Regions from separate parts of the Homo sapiens genome. Here region 1 is linked to region 2. The links are contacts of gene promoters, found by promoter capture Hi-C in blood cells and fetal thymus (Javierre and others, 2016). All regions are on one chromosome and are shown on one strand. The core of a region is centred on a gene start or on the middle of the fragment in contact, and the rest is flanking DNA. Distances in the headings are between cores, read along the strand shown. Region 1 holds the start of COPB2 (coat protein complex I subunit beta 2). Region 2 holds the start of GFM1 (G elongation factor mitochondrial 1).

Region 1 (4,861 bases), core at 1,630-4,129, about 19 Mb before region 2:
AATTGTGAACATTTTACTTTAAAATATTTTAAATTATTGATTATTGAGTAAAAGTGATGCTCCATAAGTTGGGCCAATGAACTCTGAGCAACCCCAGTAAACCTCTACATACTCCCAAAGCACAAATCTCAGTTTAAAAAAGAACAGGCAGCCAGGCGTGGTGACTCATGCCTGTAATCTCAGTACTTTGGGAAGCTGAGGCGGGAGGATCACCTGAAGTCAGGAGTTTGAGACCAGCCTGGCCAACATGGTGAAACCCCGTCTCTACTAAAAATACAAAAAAAAAAAAAAAAATTAGTTGGACGTGGTGGCACGCGCCTGCAGTCCCAGCTACTCGGCAGGCTGAGGCTGCAGAATCACTTGAATCTGGGAGGTGGAGGTTGCAGTGAGCCACGATTGCACCACTGCACTCCAGCCTGGGCGACAGAGTGAGATTCTGTCAAGAAAGAAAGAAAGAAAGAAAGAAGGAAAGAAGGAAGTAAGGAAGGAAAGAAAAGAAAAAGAAAAGAAAGAAAAGAAAGAAAGAACGAACAGGCAAGGGTTCTTGTGATAATATTTCTCCCAACAGTTAAGTGACTATTTTGAATAAGACAATGTACTAGGTACTTTGGGACAAAGATGATTAGGATGCTCACACTGTATCCTCAACTTTAAATATATCCCTCCACCTTCCAAAAGCTGGATGCATTTAGGACTCAGCTTAAATGCCACTGCCACCAGTAAGACCTTTCTAGTTACCCTAGCCTGAAGCATTCTTTCCTAGGGAATCCTATAGGATTTCATTTTAACTGTTCATGGTACACTTGTGTACACATCTTTTCTTGCTTTCTAGAGTAGATCCTCCTTAAAGCCAGGGTCATTGCTTATACATGTCTTTATCTCCAGATCACCTTATATATTTGAGTATGGGGGTTTAAGAACAGATACCATAACACAAGACTAGAAAGCCATGATGGATTTAAATTTCAGTTCCACCACTCATTTCAGATGTGCAATAGTGGGCAAATTTACTTAACCTCTTTCAAGTTTGACTTATGTAAAACAGGAATATTATTATTATCTACCTCTTAGTGCTGTAAGAATTAAATTCAGAGTTAGCCAGTTAGAGCAGTGCCTGACCTACAGTAACCACTTCACAAACATATAACTCTATCTCCCAGCTGCTGTGAGAATTAGGCAGCCATGTTTAGCAAAGTGCATGGCAGACACTAAATATTCTATGGTAAATGTACAAATGAATGAATTCACGTTTTGTATTTTCCACAAAGGATTTAAAATATATAAAGAATGAAGGCAATATTTCATTATAGAAATACACTGGTAAATGTAAAGACGGCAAAAGAAAATGAAATTAGGCAGATCCAAGAGCCTTTTCCAAAAACGTCCATTACTGCAACCACAGCAGACCCAAACTACATCAGGTAGTTAGTAATACGAAGTGCTCTAATTAAGAGGCTTGAGGTCTTGTTCAGGGACTGTAACCTGGGTGCCCAAGAAAGTCCACGGATAGTGCTAGCTTCGGCAGCACATAGAGAGGAGATTAGCGTGGCCCCTGCGCAAGTATGACACGCAAATCCGTGAAGCGTTCCATATTTTTTATAAAACAAATTAAAAAAAAAAAGAAGGTCCATGGATTGTGGGGGGGGGTGTCTGTGAATGAATGCACTGAATTTTATGCAAAAATGTTTGTTTCTCTGTGCATTTTCCCTGGGAGTATTCCTAACTTTTTCCTAGTTCCAACTTTGCCACAATTAACCTTGTAGAAACATAATTTAAAAAAATTTTTTAACTTAAGATGAGGGACTTAATCCCTAGCGTCTTCAAGCTCCAAAATGTTTGATTCTGTGCTTCATAACAAGTTTTTTTTTTTTTTTTTTTGAGACGGAGTCTTGCTCTGTCCCAGGCTGGAGTGCAGTGGTGCGACCTCGGCTCACTGCAGCCTCTGCCTCCCGGGTTCAAGCGATTCTCCTGCCTCAGCCTCCTGAGTAGCTGGGACTACAGGGGCCCGCCACCACGCCCGGCTAATTTCTTTTTTTTTTTTTTGCATTTTCAATAGAGACGGAAGATATTCTTATACTATCGTTTTCTTTCCTTATTATTATAACACTCTTGTGCAAACTAGTCTAGGGCGTTTTTTAGGGTTACGGTGATAATAACAAAGTGCTCTAACAATTACTATTCTTACCAGCCACTGGATTTGCAAATGCATAAAAGCACACCAGCCAGTGTTATAAACAGCACCCCCTTCCTCCCAACCCTTCTTCTCCCCTTAGAAACCTAACAGCTGAGATATCAAAGCATTTGAAATTCCATTTTTGACTCCATATACATTTGTTTTTGGCTTCTTTGCTTGTTTATAGTTTGTAGCCAGCACACACTATCCCCAGAATAAGCCCAACAGGAGTGTAGATTAACTACCACCGTTTTAAAGGCAAACTTTAGTTTTACCAAAGCCTCCTACGGAGTTCAACACATTCGGCTTCTGTGTTTCCCTACACCACCGATCCCGCTGCAGACTGCAGGAGCTCTGGCAAGCGCCACAAGCGCCAGGGGAGACAAAACCCCTCACTAGCAGGCTTTGCCTCCCCAAATCACCCCGGTCCCCTAGGCCCCACCGCCTTCTCCCTTCCTGGAATCAAACGACCAAGACCCCGCAAGGCCTGAGGCGGCGGCCGCAGCGGGAGCCCAGACCACTGCTTACCGCGGCCCTCAGTCCAGAAGCTCCAGGAATCGGCCGTAACCTATGGGACCCCGCTCCCTTCTACGGGATCTGGACCTACCATGGCTGCGTCGGTCCAATCCCGGGAACCCTCGTTTGTTACCGGCTACTCAGGCCTTGAGATAAACCCACCGATCCACTGACCGTCAGACTGACTGACGTGGAACTTCCGGGAGCCGATTCTCGCGATAGTCAGAGGCCAGGGCCGGAGCGCCTGCGCAAACTGCGCGCAGGGCCGTCGTTTCCCAAGCCCCGCCCCAGTTTCCTAGGCAACGTGGCCTTCCAGACCGCTGGTAGTGGACTTGAGGCTGTCGGGAAGGAGGGGTGTGGCCTAGACCACTAAGGGCCGTGACGTGGTGCCGCTGAGCTTGGACCCCGACCAGAAGATAGAGATTGAAACGATGAGGAAAACGAAGTGCCTAATCCCCGCTGGACGCTAACTGCAGGGCAAGCTCCCCAGTGTTGTAGTTGTGTTTCGGAGGCCGAGAACCGCTATCGGGCTTCCTCGGACTCTGGCCCTGGAGGGGGGAAACGGCGAGGGAGAAGGCGAAACGAGTCTCCAGTGTGTTCTTGGGGCCTGGTGCGAGGCCCAGAGAATTCTCTGCAGGCCTTTGCCCGGGCACTGATTAAGGCTGCGAAGAGACGCACCGGGCTGCGGGCTTAGTAGCTTCAGGCTTCTGAAGTCAGAGGGAGGGCTGAGAGCTTACACTTCTGGAGCTCCCCGGGAGACGGCAACTACCCAACCGTGTGGGTGTGTTTGTGTATGTGTCTTTTGTTGAGCTTCGGCTGGCTGTGTTATTCATTCAACAAATATTTATCGATCTTCGGCAGTGTGTCAGACATACCTTCTTCTCAAATCTTCACATCAAACCTGAATTATCTCCATTTAATGATGAGGAAACTCGGGCTCAAAGAAGTTAAGTGTTCTAGCCAAGACTGCATAGTAAGTGGCAGATAAAACCTCAAAGTTGGGCCGGGCGCGGTGGCTCACGCCTGTAATCCCAGCACTTTGGGAGGCCGAAACGGGTGGATCACCTGAGGTCAGGAGTTCGAGACCAGCCTGGCCAACATGGTGAAACCCCGTCTCTATTAAAAATACAAAATTAGCCTGGCGTGGTGGCGGGCGCCTGTAATCCAAGCTGTTCCAGAGGCTGACAGGAGAATCGCTTAGAACCCAGGAGGTGGAGGTTGCAGTGAGCTGAGATCGCGCCACTGCACTCCAGCCTGGGCAACAGAGCAAGACTCTGTCTCAAAACAAAACACCTCAAAGTTTGTGCTCTTTCTACTACATAAAAATATCTCTTCATTAATGTGGCTGAATTCTAAGGGCCTGTGCCATAGGGGTTACACTACACAATAAAGTTCGAGAACATTTGCCTGTCACACGCACTGCACATCTCCTGTATTTCCTTTTTTTTTTTTTTTTTAAGAAAACATGTGGACCATAGAAAACTTGCCCTCTGGTTACACGTACAAACGTGTATTTTTAACTTGAGAGAAATCTTAAAGTCTTTTCAGACCTCCAGATTTTCAGAAAGGCAAAAAGAAAAATTATGTATTTGTGTGTGTAGATAATGATAATCAGAGGGAGATGATTTTGCACGAAATTATTTGGCTTTAGTAGGAGCCTTGAGCTAATGTGACTCTCTTCATGGGCCTCAGTTTTCATCATCTTAAAAAAAATCCAGCTACATGGTTTCTAAAGATCCTTCCATTTTTTTTTTTTTTATGTTTCTGTGGCATTCAATAGTGGAAAAAAGAGTCTGGAACTGGAGTTTAGTGCCAGCAGTGTGATCTTATGTAAATTGAGACTAATAATTCTAGTAATTGCATACTTTGCTTACTCTATGGAGTGACTGAGGATCCTGAGTTGAAAAAATTATATGAACTATACCTAATTTGCTTGAATAGTGGAACTTTCAATATTTCTAACTCCTGAATACTCTTGCACTTGAGAGAGTATTTTTGGATTTGGCACAGTACTAAGTGATACAAAATAAAATGATGTATCTCTATTGTCAAGGGGCTCAGCTGGGAATGCTTAAATCTTTGTATACCACTGGGCCACCTAAGGGTCTACCTAGCTGGTGTTGCGGGCCTGAACCCTCAAGTGTCATTCTTACTTGGACTATATCTTTTCTC
Region 2 (4,315 bases), core at 1,421-3,920:
AGGACTCTAGGTATTTTCTTTCACATGCAGCTTTCCTTTTATTAGCAGTCTTAGAGTTTTCCATTTTCTCATCATTGGGTCTTTCCCCATTTTCAAAGAAGCTCTCCAGTGACATTTGTTTTTTACTCGTTTTGGCTAGAGTTAGGTTGTGGGCTTACCAAAACTGTGACTGAGGCAAGTGCTCAGTGTGGGAAGGAAGCGCGGACGGAAGTGGTAAATAAAATAATGGGCGGGCCACGCAAGACTTTAAAGCCTGCCATCAGATGCAACTGTACAACTGAAATACATCAACTCACTTGCCACTATAAAGCTTGCCACCAGTGCAGCTTTTGTCACTTGACACTCACTGACAGGGTTTTGATATGAATCTGCAAGCAATTGATTTATTATGGTCTCTGTGCAGTCAAACCTCTTTGCTAATGTTAATCTGTATTTGCAGCTGTTCCCCAGCCCTAGCGGCCACACCTTAGCTCCACCTCAGGTCATCAGGCATTAGATTCTCATAAGGAGTGCGTAACCCAGATCCCTTGAATGGATAGTTCACAAGGGGGTTCACACTCCCATGAGAATCTAATGCCACTGCTAATCTGACAGGAGGCAGAGCTCAGGTGGTAATACAAGTGATAAGGAGAGGGTGTAAATACAGATGAAACTTCACTCGCTCGCCCACTGCTTACCTCCTACTGTGTGGCCTGGTTCCTAACAGGCCATGGACTGATACTGGTCTCTGGCCCAGAGGTTGGGGACTCCTGTGTTAGAACATGTAGATGCCAAGTACCTGTGCCAACCACAGGTCCACCTTTGCATACTTGACCTTACCAGTATTTTATGAATATATATGTACAGCTCCCATGTTACCAGTGAAGGGTCTTGACTATGAGTCATACAGGTTCTTGGCGTTTGAACAAAGAATTGGACAAAACACATAAGCAAAGCAATGAAAGAATGGAGCAATGAAGGCACAGATGTGTTGAAACAAAAGTACACTCCACAGCTCAAGAGCACCTGTTACAGAATTTTCTGGGATTTAAATACCCTCTAGAGCGTTCCCATTGGTTACACCCTATGTAAATGAAGGAGTGGCCCATAACCAGCCTGCTTGGTTGCAGGAGGTGACCAATCAGAGGCTGAAGTGAAGTTACAAAGTTACACATGAGGACTTGGCCTGCTACCAGTCTGATTATTTGCCAGAGGGGACCAGTCAGAGGTACTTTCCATTTTTTCATCTGCAATGCAGTGCATTGGGAGTAGCCTCCGATCCTTTTGTTACTTGGGCATGGAGAGGTGGGGTTTTCCTTTTGGTTCAGCTCTAGGAAGTCAGCAGGGCCTTCGGTTCCCTGTCTCTAGACCCTGTTCTCCTGCCTCACCCATAAAGGGAATTCCCTAGAGATACTAAAGGCTGTCTGTCTCTCTTCTGAGCAGCCCACTCTGCCTCTCAGAGTGTACTTTTGGTTTACAATAAACTTTTTTGCCTACTCTTACTTTGTACTTGCTTTCAAATTCTTTTGTGTGGTGAAGTCAAGCACCTGAACCGGCCCACTGACAACAGCAAGGATAGAAGCAGTGAGATCGGTTACAAGGCTATTACAATAGTTCCCTCCAGAAACGGCAGTACTGAGAGGTGGGGAGAAGTAAGTTCTGGATTTTCTTTTTTTTTTTTTTTTTTTGAGACTCGCTCTGTCACCCAGGGTGGAGTGCAGTGGCGTGATCTCGGCTCACTGCAAGCTCCGCCTCCTGGGTTCACACCATTCTCCTGCCTCAGCCTCCCGAGTAGCTGGGACTACAGGCGCCCGCCACCGCGCCCGGCTAATTTTTTTTTGTATTTTTAGTAGAGACGGGGTTTCACTGTGTTAGCCAGGATGGTCTCCATCTCATGACCTCGTGATCTGCCCGCCTCGGCCTTCCAAAGTGCTGGGACTACAGGTGTGAGCCACCGCGTCCGGCCCTGGATGTCTTTTTGAAAGTAGAGCTTACAGGATATGCTGACTGATTAGACCGGAGATGTCACAGCATGGTGTCAAAGCGACTAATATTTTTGGCTAGAATCACTAAAGTTTACATTTATGAGATGGATAAGACTGTGGAAGGTTTGGGGAAGAAGATCCGAAGCTCAGTTTTGGACCTGTTAGGTTCAACATGCCTCTTAACACATCCAAGCAGAATGGTCAAGGATGCAGTCTTCCACATGGACAGGACATGAAATGTCTGACATCGAACAATAACAAATAACATTTTGACATGAGGAAAAGTATTTGTAATTGTAATTGATAGTTCATTCACTATAATTTGTCCACGTTCTTTTTCAGGCCATGTCATATATATACCTATTAATATTTGTAATAGACAATTTTGCTCTTTTCTACTTAAATTGTTATATACATTTCTCCACATTGCTTTATAGGCCTAACAACCATGTTTAAATTCTGTATCTTCATACAGAGGTAATATTTAAAAAAGAAGACGAAGACAAAAGGACTCCCTTCCCTCACCCATATACCTATGCCGTCTTACTGGGAGCAAACACTTCTTTAGCTCCGCAAAGCGATTGCACTTTCTCTTCCAAGTCGGCAGACGGCGCGCGAGCAGCGTAGGCACTGCTCCGCCTCCAATCCAGTTGCTCTTCTTTCTTTTCCTCACTCTCTTTTTCCTCGCGTCCTTTGCCCCGGAAGTGCTCTTACAACATTGGCTGCCGGCGTGACTTTGACCGCTTCCCGGTGCGTTACCGGCAGCTGAACCCACCCGGCGCCACGGGACTTTGACGCGTGCTCTGCGCTTGCCATGAGACTCCTGGGAGCTGCAGCCGTCGCGGCTCTGGGGCGCGGAAGGGCCCCCGCCTCCCTAGGCTGGCAGAGGAAGCAGGTACCGGAGCATAGAGAGGCTAAATCGGGACCATTCCCGGAACCTTGTGATCCCTTCTGGGCAATGGAAGGCCGTGACACCCCCTGGGTCCTCATGACTGACAGCTCCGAATACTGGCAGTCGCTCGTCAGTGCTGAAAAGCACCTCGGTGCCTGCACATTAGCTCGTTAGCTCGTTTGTTTCGCTCTCTGGTATCCCTAGGGTTTAATCAACTAAAAGTGTCTGTCACTCAGATACTTTGATATTTTATCCACCTTTTCTAAGGTTTTTTTTTTTTTTTTTTGCCTCTCTTTTCCCGTGAATAATTGTGCATTTTGGATGTGCAGTCCTATAGGGAAAGGTTTATATTGTATCTTCATTCCATCTAATAGGGATCCCCATCCCCTGCCACCAGAGTAAAGTTAAAACAAGCTTCATGAATTGTTTTTGTTTGGAGGGAATTGGAAATCTTTGGGGGCTGTCTTGGAGCTACTAGCATCACTGCATAGAGCATATAAGTTCTCAAACATATTTGTCATCTGTGAACTACAATAAAGGAGAAAGGGAAAAAAATTAAGTTAAATTTAAGCTAAAATTTGTATTTTCTATTAAAGTATTTTTTGGAGCTGTCTTTGTGATTTTATCTGCCCCAGTGTGTATTTTCAAATCTGCAGTAAAAAGTGTCTCCCATTTTAATTAAATTTAACTTATTCATTAATTAATTTTAAAAGAATACGTCTTTACTGTCTTGTTTTGAAGTCTGTCCTCTGATTACAAGAGTTCCAGGCTTAAAGGTTTCCCCTGGTGCCTTTCTCAAGCTATCTCATATCCAGTGAGATTTCTTGGAGGAATAATGTCCACCATACTCCTTTTAATTGTCTGTTGTTCTCTCTTATAAAAGGTGCATAGAATTGAGCTCTCGTATTTTTTTCAGGTTAATTGGAAGGCCTGCCGATGGTCTTCATCAGGGGTGATTCCTAATGAAAAAATACGAAATATTGGAATCTCAGCTCACATTGATTCTGGGAAAACTACATTAACAGAACGAGTCCTTTACTACACTGGCAGAATTGCAAAGATGCATGAGGTATATATTCACGGTTGATTCCGGATTAATTAGAACCAGATTTTAATTGTTTTGTTGCTATTATTTAATAAAGCTTATAAACCTGAAAGATTAAAACAATGGTAACAGCGGACTTTTGACAGTTAGGCTTATCTGAAAGTTGCTTAAGTTAAGTATCTGTGTTCTGGTTTTATTTTTATTTTTTATAGAAGAGGTCTCACTTTGTTGCTCAGGCTGGTCTCAAACTCTTGGGCTCAAATTATCATCCTGCCTCAGTCTCCCACAGTGCTGGGATTATAGGCATGAGCCACTGCACCTGGCAACTGTTTCCATTTCAGTTAAGATTTCTTTCCTTCTTGGAATGCAGGGACAGAGAAAGTCTGAATTGCTGTGCTTGTGTTTAGGTGAAAG

Evidence for each region. The method cuts DNA at HindIII sites, captures the fragments that hold promoters and counts their contacts. A CHiCAGO score of 5 or more calls a contact.
Region 1: a contact is called between the fragment with the promoter of COPB2 here and the fragment with the promoter of GFM1 in region 2, in 1 of 17 cell types (non-activated CD4 T cells). The highest score is 5.3, in non-activated CD4 T cells.

What each region holds. Positions count from the first base shown.
Region 1 is chr3:139,386,768-139,391,628 of GRCh38, forward strand. COPB2 (coat protein complex I subunit beta 2) reads right to left here and starts at 2,880. Exons shown (of 22, transcript NM_004766.3): 1 at 2,781-2,880. The coding sequence starts at 2,783. It overlaps COPB2-DT (COPB2 divergent transcript), which reads left to right and starts at 3,036. Exons shown (of 5, transcript NR_121609.1): 1 at 3,036-3,166. It also overlaps the pseudogene LOC124906339. RefSeq lists enhancers at 2,558-2,807, 2,604-3,165, 3,098-3,397, 3,166-3,728, 3,608-3,717. The HindIII fragment of the contact is 7,530 bases long and covers 1-4,861 here.
Region 2 is chr3:158,641,857-158,646,171 of GRCh38, forward strand. GFM1 (G elongation factor mitochondrial 1) reads left to right here and starts at 2,671. Exons shown (of 18, transcript NM_024996.7): 1 at 2,671-2,859; 2 at 3,773-3,925; 3 at 4,309-4,315. The coding sequence starts at 2,779. The HindIII fragment of the contact is 2,960 bases long and covers 309-3,268 here.